Regions from separate parts of the Homo sapiens genome. Here regions 2, 3 and 4 are each linked to region 1. Evidence: promoter capture Hi-C in 16 types of primary human blood cells and fetal thymus (Javierre and others, 2016). All regions are on one chromosome and are shown on one strand. The core of a region is centred on a gene start or on the middle of the fragment in contact, and the rest is flanking DNA. Distances in the headings are between cores, read along the strand shown. Region 1 holds the start of SETD9 (SET domain containing 9). Region 2 overlaps IL31RA (interleukin 31 receptor A). Region 3 has its middle 5.5 kb from the start of PLK2. Region 4 overlaps SLC38A9 (solute carrier family 38 member 9).

Region 1 (2,700 bases), core at 201-2,700:
CCTCCGTCTCTCAGGTTCAAGCGATTCTTCTGCCTCAGCCTCCTGAGTAGCTGGGACTACAGGCACGTGCCACCAACGCTCGGCTAATTTTTGTATTTGTTCTTTTTTAGTAAAGACGGGGTTTCGCCATGTTGGCCAGATTGGTCCCGAACTCCTGACCTCAGGGGATCCACCCGCCTCGGCCTCCCAAAGTGCTGGGATTACAGGCGTGAGCCACTGCGCCCGGCCTTGGCTGAGTTTTTATTAGATCTGAGCCGTTCAATTTCAATAGTTTAGGATCCAACCTCACTCTCAGGCAAAGAATAGAGGAAATGATACCAACGTATTTATCTGTCAATAAACACTTGGTGATTTGAATATGGTTAAGGGATTCCTGTAGTTTGCCCCCCTTAAAACTGAACTTTGTCCAAACCTGTTCTAAATATGTGTGTGCGTGTGCATGCATCTGGGTGTTGGGGAGGAGCGGTCGTAAAGTTCCTTTTAAATTTCACCTATGGGGGACTACTTCCCACCTCATCCTATGAAGTCAACATTAGCCTAAATACCAAAGCCAGATTAAGACACTACAAGAAAACTACGAAACAATATCTCTCACGAACACAGATGCAGAACTTCTAGACAAAACGTTTCCAAATTGAAGCGAAGACCATATTAAAAGGACAAAAGCACCTCAGTGGTTGCTTGGGGACTGGGGGAGGGGCTGGATTACTATCTTGGCTGTGGTGTCGAAAACCTATCAAATTGTTCACTTTAAATATGTGCAGTTTATTGTATCCCAACCATTCCTCAACAAAGCTGTTTTTCAGAAACATTTGTCCATGTAGTTTTGCCTTTGAATGGTTGGGTCAATGAAGAGAAAAACGAGTGAAAACAGGGAATCATGACACTTTGTTTTTTTACGTGTAAATATTCGCAAAACGCCCAAACTGGTAACTTTGGGAACACGGGTTCACGCAGAAGAAGGGCTGCTGTCTGGGGAGGACTGAAACTCGGGTTCCCGAAGTCGGGCTGCTCTGGGGCCACGGAGAGAAGGGGAGAGAACGTCGAGGAAGAGGCAGAGCTCAAGTGGACGGAGGATGGAACACAGAGCGCGGCCGGGACAAAGGGGCAGGCCAGACAGCCGTGACAGAGAAACTAGGCGGTCCGCTCCTGGGACGCGGTCTCGGGGGCGGGTTCGCCCCTGAGGCCCGGTGACCCTTCGCCCGCAACCAGGGCTAGCGCTTGTGTGCGCCCACGGAAGCACCCGAGCGACCGGAGAAAGAAAAAGTGGTCAAGGGGACCTCCTTCCAGCTCTACGCGCCTCTCATTCAGAGAGGTGAGGTCAGGAAAGGGGAAGGACGAAGCCCCAGAGCAACAGAAGTCAGGCGGTGCCAGGAACACTGAGAGCGGAGCCAGGGGAAGGCGGCCGAGCGCGGCCCCCTCTCCTCCCGGGCCGGGGCGGGCCCGAGGCCTCGATCCGCCTTCCCCGCGCCGTCCTGGTCACGGCCCCGCGGGGCAGCCATGCCTGGCCGTCTGCTGCGGGGCCTGTGGCAGCGATGGCGCCGTTACAAGTACCGCTTCGTTCCCTGGATCGCACTGAACCTAAGCCACAACCCGAGGTGAGAGGGCGGGACGGCAGAACGAGGGGCACCTGCCTTCGGTTCCCAGACGCCACCACGGCGGCGGGACGCAAAGCGGAGAGCCTGAGGCTGACTGCCGGCCTGAGATGGGCGGGCCCGGGTGGGCAGGGACTGAGGTGGGCGGGCCGGGTGGGCGGGGACTGAGGCCTCGGAGGGGTTTAAGGAACGCGGGCCAGAGGCGGGCGGGGCCGAGGTTGGTGGAGTCCGAGGCCCGCTGGAAGCCTGAAGTGGGCGGTGGCTTCAGGTGGGCGGGGCCTATGGCCTCTTTCCCAGTGTCCGCTGCGCTGCCGGGCCCGCGAGGCCGAGCTCGCCAGCCGGATGTGTCGCCTGTTCTTCCCTGTTGCGTTCGGCACTGACTGGGGAGCTTGTATCTGGGCAAAAATGGAAACTTTTTAAAAAGACTGCCCTTACCGCGTGAGAGTGCGTGGCTTTTTCTCCACCAGGGGTTAATTAGGTGCTTGAACTTCCTCAGAAAAGCCAAGCCAGGGTTTATTTTCATAGTTCATACAAGTACTTCACGTGGTTAAAGAAGCCCATCCCGGCTGTGAGAATAGCGTGCAGTAGCTCGCGCGTTAAGAACGGGCAGAACGCCACTCAAAAGCACGTCGGGATGGTGGGTTTCGGATTGGGGTGAGTCCCGCCGGCGTTATTAAGGGCGCACCAGTGATCAGCTCAACACCGTGCTCACCAAAGAGGCCGACCGGGCCTCCCTGAAGTCAGTGTCCGACAAATAGGGAAACAAAGCGGTTTCCGGAAGGTTGCATGCTAGGGAAACAGGAGATCAGTTGTATCATGACTCGGAACCGTGAGGCGGGAATTACAACCTTTTTGTTCAAGTAAAAATAATGCAGTTAGTACAAAAAGATAATGATTATGGAAATAAGAGGTGCAGTCATTGAAGACGTTAGTCGTCCTGGAGGGAGTGTCACAAAGTATACGATGTTGAATTTGTCTTTGAAACTACAAGGCCATTTTTAAAAAGCCATTGAATGTGAGGTCATTCATTCTCATTGTGATGACATTCAGCTTGGCTGTTGGGTGTAGTACGGGAAAGAGCTGAACTTCGTTTCTGCCTCTGGCT
Region 2 (2,700 bases), core at 136-2,635, 1.0 Mb before region 1:
CCACACCCGCAGGGCTATGGGACTCCCTGGGTTGCGGAGGCGGTGCTGCCGCCGCATGGGACAACAGCCAGAGATGGCGGGGAATCCTAGAGAATCAATCCCAGATGCTGTGCTGTCTTTCTCAGCCATCAAGTATGAAAACAAATGATTGTGGCAACACATTTTTGGGGGAGGAAAGCCAACAACCTCACACGCCCACATGTGGTCTTAGCTACATAGCAGTGGCGAAGGGCCAAGTAGGGCAGCTTGCGAAGTAGAGAAGATGGATTTCAGTGCCCGCCTCCTCCCCGTCGCCTGTTGGGTCTGGTCTTTTTCTCCACACCACCCCCCCGCCCCCCCGCACCTTCAAAAGGAAAGAGCTCTCTAAGAATTTGAGTTGGTTAAAAAAGAATGTACTAAAATGCTCTAAAATTAAATAATAGTGATAGTTGCATGACTGAACATACTATTAATAAAAGCCATTGAACTCACATTAAAACAGTGAATTTTATGGAATGTGAATTGTATCTCAATTTTTATTATTTTAAAAAGAATGTTATTTAAAAAAGTTATTTAAAATGTTAATATGTTATTTTAAAAAGATTTTAAATAACATATTAATATGTTATTTTAAAAAGATTTTAAATAACATATTAATGTTATTTTAAAAAGATTTTAAATAACATATTAATATGTTTTTTAAAAAGATTTTAAATAACATATTAATATGTTATTTAAAAAGAATATGTGTTATTTAAAAAAGAAAATGGGGCTGGGCGTGGACTGGGCCGGTAATCCCAGCACTTTGGGAGGCCAAGGCATGGGGATCACTTGAGGTCAGAAGTTCAAGACCAGCTTGGACAACACAGCAAAACCCTGTCTCTACTAAAAATACAAAAATTAGTCGGGCATGGTGGTGCACACCTGTAATCCCAGCTACTCGGGAGGCTGAGGCAGGAGAATTGCTGGAATCCAAGAGGCGGAGGTTGCAGTGAGCCAAGATCAGGCCACTGCACTCCAGCCTGGGCGACAGAGAGAGACTCTGTCTCAAAATAAATAAATAAATACAATAAAATAGAAAATGGGTCGTCTTGAGAGATAAAAGGCTCCTGGTCATTAGGAAGATTCTAGCTGACCTTTTATGCCTAGACATAAAAGTAAAGGAAATTCCTGAACTGGGAAGGCAGTGGGACGAAGTGCCTGCTAAAGTCCCACTTATAAGTCCTGGACTTATATTCAGGCATTACGCTCCATCTATGTGTATAATCAGTAACAGAAGGGGAAGCCCTATAAATTCTGGGAAATACTGTCTCCTAGGCAAATGTCTGGTGAGTGGGCCCAAGTTCAAGGCTGAAAATAAGAGTTTAGCTTAAAGTCCTCAGGATTCCACCTTAAACTTCTCGCCAAGGGTTTGGGACTGGCAGTGCGGCCCTCTTAGCTAGGACGCCTGGCTGGGGCGCCTGGTCCAGGGAAGCTGGCTCCCTTCTCAGAGGGAGAGGCATGGAAATAAAAGACTAGGGCATAGGGTACTCTCCAACCTTTGGATACTCCAGGCAAGAGATGACTCAGAGCCAGACCAGACTTTGGATGGGCTGAGAGGGAATGTGTCAGCTTTTTAGCCCTTACTCCTTTACACGAGTGGGATGGAGCGAAAGATACAGGCAGAAGGAAATAAGGGTGGCTTGTTTACATTGTTTTGGGCATTCTTCTAGTTTAGCCTCATGGAATTAGATGAAATTTAGTAAATCCCCTCTTCTGGCACTTGAAGTGTTACTATCACAGCCCAGGATCTTATTCATCCCTGGAGGGTAATTACCTGATTGTAGTTTAGTATCTAATAGTTAGCCTTATTCCCCACCCTCACCCCCACCGCTTCTCACTGTCTCAATGCCTTTCTTTTTCTTTGTTATTGGCAATAAATTTTGTTTTCTTTGGGTTCAGAAGGCAAGAGGAGCCCCAGTCCTAGAGAAAACACTTGGCTACAACATATGGTACTATCCAGAAAGCAACACTAACCTCACAGAAACAATGAACACTACTAACCAGCAGCTTGAACTGCATCTGGGAGGCGAGAGCTTTTGGGTGTCTATGATTTCTTATAATTCTCTTGGGAAGTCTCCAGTGGCCACCCTGAGGATTCCAGCTATTCAAGAAAAATGTAAGTAGAGCATCAACTTCTTCCTTAGGTGCCTGGTCCCATCAATTGGCCAAGGAGCAGTCCCTGTGCTCTCAAGGGTGGCTGTTTCTCTTGAGTCAAAATGAAAATGGAGTGGGAACCTTTTAGGTTGTGGTGAAGCAATGAGAATTTGCTGGTAATTAATGAATCACTTGAAGTCATGTTCCTTTGGAACAAAGCCTGCGTTAAAAATCAGAGACTTTATAAATTACAGAATACAAAGCCATACACCTAGAAGTTCTGTGTGCAGCTTTGATTTGTTCTGGTCTGGGTGAATGTAAGCTGGGTCAAGTCCTATGAAACTGTCCTATTTCTCACATTTGTCCTCCGTGACCGAAGCTGCCCTTGAACTCTTCTCCCCACAAATGGGTACTCACCACATCCCCATCCTTGGTTTAATGCTTGCTGTCCTGTTTTCTTCCTTTTCCCCTTCCATTTGTCACTATGGAAAAATTCTAGTGTTTATACTTGCCAATAAATTGTTCATTACACTTTTGGTTAAGTAGTTTTTGACATATTACTGCTCCCAGGCAAACTCATATTTA
Region 3 (2,700 bases), core at 97-2,596, 1.6 Mb after region 1:
TGGAGCTGACCCAAATGCCCATGAATGATAGATTGGATAAAGAAAATGTGGCACATATACACCATGGAATACTGTGCAGCCATAAAAAAGGATAAGTTGATGTTCTTTGCAGGGACATGGATGAAGCTGGAAACCATCATTCTCAGCAAACTAACACAGGAACAGAAAACCAAACACTGCATGTTCTCATTCATAAGTGGGCATTAAACAATGAGAACATATGGACACAAGGAGGGGAACATCACACACTGGGGCCTATCAGGAGGTGGGGGCCTAGAGGAGGGATAGCATTAGGAGAAATACCTAATGTAGATGACGGGTTGATGGATTCAGCAAACCACCAAGGCACGTGTATACCTATGTAACAAACCTGCACATTCTGCACATGTATCCCAGAACTTAAAGTATAATAAAAAAATTTTTTTTAAAAAGACTACACATTGGGTACAGTGTACACTGCTTGAGTGATGGGTACAGCGAAATCTCAGAAATCACCACTAAAGGACTTAATGTAACCAAATACCACTTGTTCACCAAAAACCTATTAAAAGAAAAAATAATAATTTTCAAAAAACAACCATGCCCATTTGCTTATGTAGATATATTGTCTATGGCTGCTTTCATGCTACAATGGCAGAGTTCAGCTGTGACAGAGACCAAATGGCCTGCAATGCCTAAAATATTTGCTACCTAGCCCTTTACAGAAACAGTTTGCTGACCCCTCATGTATAAGGTTATTCACTGCAGTGTTGCTTGTAATAATTAAAGATTAGAAACAACCTAAGTGGCCATCAATAGAAAACTGGTTAAATGATGATGTGTTCATGCCGTGAAAATGTAGGCAGTTGTAAAAACAAAATGAAGAAGCTTTTTAAGTATTGATATGAAAAAAATCTCCAAAATAGGCCGGGCGCGGTGGCTCAACAACTTGGGAGGCTGAGGCAGGCCGATCATCTGAGGTCAGGAGTTCTAGACCAGCCTGGCCAACATGGTGAAACCCCGTCTCTACTAAAATTACAAAAATTAGCCAGGTGTGGTGGTAGGTGCCTGTAATCCCAGCTAATCAGGAGGCTGAGGCAAGAGAATCGCTTGACATTAGGAGATATACCTAATGTAAATGACCAGTTAATGGGTGCAGCACACCAACACGGCACATGTATACATATGTAACAAACCTGCATGTTGTGCACATGTACCCTAGAACGTAAAGTACAATAAATATATATACAAAAAAAAAAAAAGAGAAACGCTTGAACCCGGGAGGCGGAAGTTGCAGTGAGCCGAGATCACACCATTGCACTCCAGCCTGGGGGACAAGAGTGAGACTTCGCCTCAAAACACACACACACACACACACACACAAATCTCCAAAATAAATACTGTGGAAAGCAAGTATAGGATAGTGTATGGTATAGTAAAATATGTTTCCTTGGAATAAAAAATGAGGGGAAAATAACATATTTTTATAGCCTTAATTATGCATAAAGCATAAACTTTTGGGAAGGATTAATAGCAAACTAATAATAATAGGTTTTCTTCTGTTTACTTGTTTACATATTTTTGTGAGAAGATTATTTACTTTTCTGATCATTTTTATGTGTTTTAATGTCTGAACCAGAAGAATACATTACTATTTAAAAATACATATAAAAACATTTTTTAAGGATGTGATTTGGCTCATCAAAGAGAACTTTGTGTTCCACTCTCTGTTACATTCTATCATCTCATCAAGGTTTGCAATACACACTTTATACTATAAGTATAGGGTGCAGCGAAAATACTTTATATTGCTTAATTGATTATTACTTTTCTTCCCCACAGGTATGAAAGCTTCATGAGGACAGGTACATTTCTTAGTTTAATGCTATATTCCCCATGCCTTGAATAGTACATGACAGAGTAAAAACTCAATTATTTGTTAGATAGACACATTTATAAATATAAAACTATTGAGAAAACAAGATACCTCTTAGATTTGATCTTGCACAAATTTCTGAAACTCTCTATGTCTCAGTTTCTTCTTCTGTAACAAGAGGATGACAACATTTTATAAGGTTGTTGCTATGGTATGAATGTTTTTGTTCCCACAACATTCATTTGTTGAAATTCTCACCTACATTGTGATGGTATTAAGAGGTGGGTCTTTGGAGGTGATTAGCTCATGGGGTTAGAGCCTTCATAAATGGCATTAATACCTTCATAATAGAGACTGAAGAGATACTCCTTGCCCCTTCCACCATGTGAGACCACAGCAAGAAGGTGCCATCTGTGAGGAAGTTGGCCCTCACCAGATACCAAATCTGCTAGCAACATGATCTTGGATTTCCCAGCTCCTAGAACTGTGAGAAATAAATTTATTGTTTATAAGCCACCTAGTTTTGTGATATTTTGTTATAGCAGCCCAGAGGGGCTAAGACAATTGTTATAATGATTAAACAAGCCAATGCATAGAATGTGCTTAGAACAGTGCCTGTCACATGGTGGGAAATCTATAATGCTAGTTATTATTTAATATTCAGGAGAAAGGAAGGGGCAAGAAGAAAAACTACCAAAGGCAGGAGAGATGGACAAGAAGGAGTTTAACCCAAGGTAGAGTGGAGAGATACTGTTCCCAGCATCTGGTTTACTGAAAGGAATTCAACAAAACTGAACGGAACTGACAGGGAGAAAGAACAACAAATAAGCACTGTTTTTGTTTGC
Region 4 (2,710 bases), core at 210-2,709, 1.2 Mb before region 1:
CTGAGAATTTCAGGTGACAACAGATATGCTTTCTTTTTTTTTTTTTGAGACAGGGTCTCACTCTGTCACCCAGGCTGGAGTGCAGTAGTGCCATCTGGGCTTGCTGCAACCTCCTCCCGCCAGGCTCAAGCTATCCTCCCACCTCAGCCTCTAAAATAGCTGGGATCCCAGCTGTGCGCCACTATGTTGCCCAGCCTGGCCTCAAGTAATCTTCTTGCCTCAGCCTCCCAAAGTACCAAAGTGCTGGGATTATAGGCATGAGCCACCATGCCTAGTCTTAAAGCTTTTTTGAATGTCTTGATGAGAAGTATAAAATATCCCGAAGTTTGATGACTTAGGTTGAGAGGTGAATTAGAGTTCCACAGCAAATATTACATAGGTGATAATGCAGAATAGTTTATCAATGATTAACAAAAATGCTAAATACTTCTATAGTATTAATTTGTCAGACATTACATTGATATAATTTGGTAGGGGCTAAATATACAAGATGACATAAACAGACATATTCCAGCCTGGCCAACATAGTGAAACCCTGTCTCTACTAAAAGTACAAAAATTAGCCAGCAGTGGTGGCACACACGTGTAGTCCCAGCTACCCGGGAGGCTGAGGCAGGAGAATTGCTTGAACCCAGGAGGCAGAGGTTGCAGAGCAAGACTCTGTCTCAAAACAAAACCCAGACATAATCACTTTTAACATCTCACTCAATCTCTGAGTTTTAAAACAAAGTCCCAGATGCAAGACCACTAAGTCAAATCTAAGTCATTAAATGAGTCTCTAATTGTTTAAGATTGGTTTTAATAAGGAGTCCAGCTATGATTTGAATGTTTGTGTCCCGTCCAAAATTCATATGTTGAAACTTAATTGCCAATGTTATAGTATTAACAGGTAGACCCTTTTGGAGGTAATTATGTCAGGAAGGCAGAACCCTTATGAATGGAGTTAGTAACCTTATGAAAAGTTTGAAGGGAACTAGCTAGATCCCTTTTGTCTTTCCATCCCTTCCCCCATGTGAGGACACAGCACCAAGGCACCATCTTGGAAGCAGAGACCGGGTCCTCACCAAACATCAAATCTGCAGGTGGCTTGATCTTGGACTTCCCAGCCTCCACAACTGCTAGAAATTAATTTCTATTGTTTATAAATTACCTAGCCTCAAGTATTTCATTAGAGCAGCACCAAGAGACTGAGATAGGTCCCAGTAGGGAATGAACAGCTTAGTTGACTTGCTTGGTACTTTCGACTTTTATTTAAAATGTTGGTGACTGAGCCAGGCATGGTGGCTCATGCCTGTAATCTCAGCTACTCGGGAGGCTGAGGTGAGAGAACTGCTTGAGCCCAGGAGTTCGAGATTGCAGCGAGCTACAATGGCACCACTGCATTCCAGCCCAGGTGACAGAGTGAGACTGTCTCTAAAAGAACAAAAAATGTTAGTGCCTGTACTGAAGCACTTCTCTCCGTAAAAAGGACATAGAGAGCAATCAAAGTAAACTGGTATGACATTATTTTAAAAAGGTATTGACTGTGATTATTGGCGTATCTCAAAGAATATCAGCCCTTTCCATACTAGGCTCAGAAATGTCTTTTCACAATTCTTTGCAAAAATAAATCTATAGAATCTATGCCAAGATGCTAGCATCAATCTGCAATAGAATACACTAGCTTGTGCCCAAATAAATGTGACTATGGACCCACATACAACTATTATATATGTTCTTTCTCAGAGACTAAAAATGAATATTACTGAATACTTTTGTGTATGTTATAGAGTTTCAGATACTACATTTATACTCAGTGTCCTAGGCTAGAGGTTGACATATTTTTTTCTGTAAAGGGTCAGATAATAAATATTTCAGGCTTTTTGAGCCATATAGTTTCTGCAGCTACTCAATTCTACCTGTTAGCATGAAAGGCAATTGAGTGTGCATGGCTGTGTTCCAATAGAACTTTATGAAAAAAATATATCTGTCAGCAGGCCAAATTTGGTCATAGTTTACTCACCTCTGTAGTATGCCAACATAAAAGCAAATGGAACCACACCACAAAAAAGTCACCCTGGTGGAAGCAGTTATGCTATGTATATATATTTTCTTCTGTATTAGTCTGTAACAGCTATAAACTCCAATAACAAACTTATCTAAATCTCTTCCTGATGAATCATTTACTGGTTAGCCAATAGGATCTATAATGCTCCTATTCTGATGTGACAGTTGGAACATGCTTCCAACCTGATCAATAAATGCTTCAAAAGGCGTTAAATTTGACAGTGCTGGAGGATAGTGTGGTCTCACAAAAAAATTACCAAAGCAACGCTGTGGTACCAAAGAATCTCTCCTTCTACAATGGGAACACTAAATGCTCTCAAGTTATATTTCAGTGGTAAGAAAGAAAAAAACCCTAGCAAACGACAGAAATTTAAGTATGTTACAAAATGCAGGCCTGGTAGACATTTTTAACCTCTAAGTGATTTTTTTTTTTTAACTTTTAAGCCCATATATACTTTTTAAAAAATACCATATAGGTCCAGTGTGGTGGCTCATGCCTGTAATCCCAATGCTTTGGGAGGCTGAAGCAAGAGGATTGCTTGAACCTAGGAGTTCAAGGTAACAGTTAGCTATGACAGTGCCACTGCACTAAAGCTTGAGTATCAGAGCAAAACTCTGCCCCTAACCCCAAAAAGAAAAAAAAAATACTAAACAATACTATTTC

Evidence for each region. Contacts are between HindIII fragments. The CHiCAGO score rates a contact against its expected background, and 5 or more counts as called.
Region 2: a fragment that was not itself captured here is called in contact with the fragment with the promoter of SETD9 in region 1 in 1 of 17 cell types (monocytes); the score reaches 6.5 in monocytes.
Region 3: a contact is called between a fragment that was not itself captured here and the fragment with the promoter of SETD9 in region 1, in 2 of 17 cell types (neutrophils and total CD8 T cells). The highest score is 6.4, in neutrophils.
Region 4: a contact is called between a fragment that was not itself captured here and the fragment with the promoter of SETD9 in region 1, in 1 of 17 cell types (total CD8 T cells). The highest score is 5.1, in total CD8 T cells.

What each region holds. Positions count from the first base shown.
Region 1 is chr5:56,908,146-56,910,845 of GRCh38, forward strand. It overlaps SETD9 (SET domain containing 9), which reads left to right and starts at 1,451. Exons shown (of 6, transcript NM_153706.4): 1 at 1,451-1,598. The coding sequence starts at 1,501. RefSeq lists enhancers at 1,087-1,176, 1,967-2,016, 2,112-2,700 and silencers at 1,327-1,536, 1,717-1,926. The HindIII fragment of the contact is 6,770 bases long and covers 1-2,700 here.
Region 2 is chr5:55,897,996-55,900,695 of GRCh38, forward strand. IL31RA (interleukin 31 receptor A) reads left to right here. Exons shown (of 15, transcript NM_139017.7): 8 at 1,921-2,137. Among named protein-coding and RNA genes, the nearest start is that of IL31RA, 48 kb to the left of the region's middle. The HindIII fragment of the contact is 7,038 bases long and covers 1-2,700 here.
Region 3 is chr5:58,464,276-58,466,975 of GRCh38, forward strand. No RefSeq gene overlaps it. Among named protein-coding and RNA genes, the nearest start is that of PLK2, 5.5 kb to the left of the region's middle. RefSeq lists an enhancer at 2,699-2,700. The HindIII fragment of the contact is 963 bases long and covers 866-1,828 here.
Region 4 is chr5:55,706,914-55,709,623 of GRCh38, forward strand. All of the region lies in intron 2 of SLC38A9 (solute carrier family 38 member 9), which reads right to left. Among named protein-coding and RNA genes, the nearest start is that of SLC38A9, 4.1 kb to the right of the region's middle. The HindIII fragment of the contact is 2,357 bases long and covers 282-2,638 here.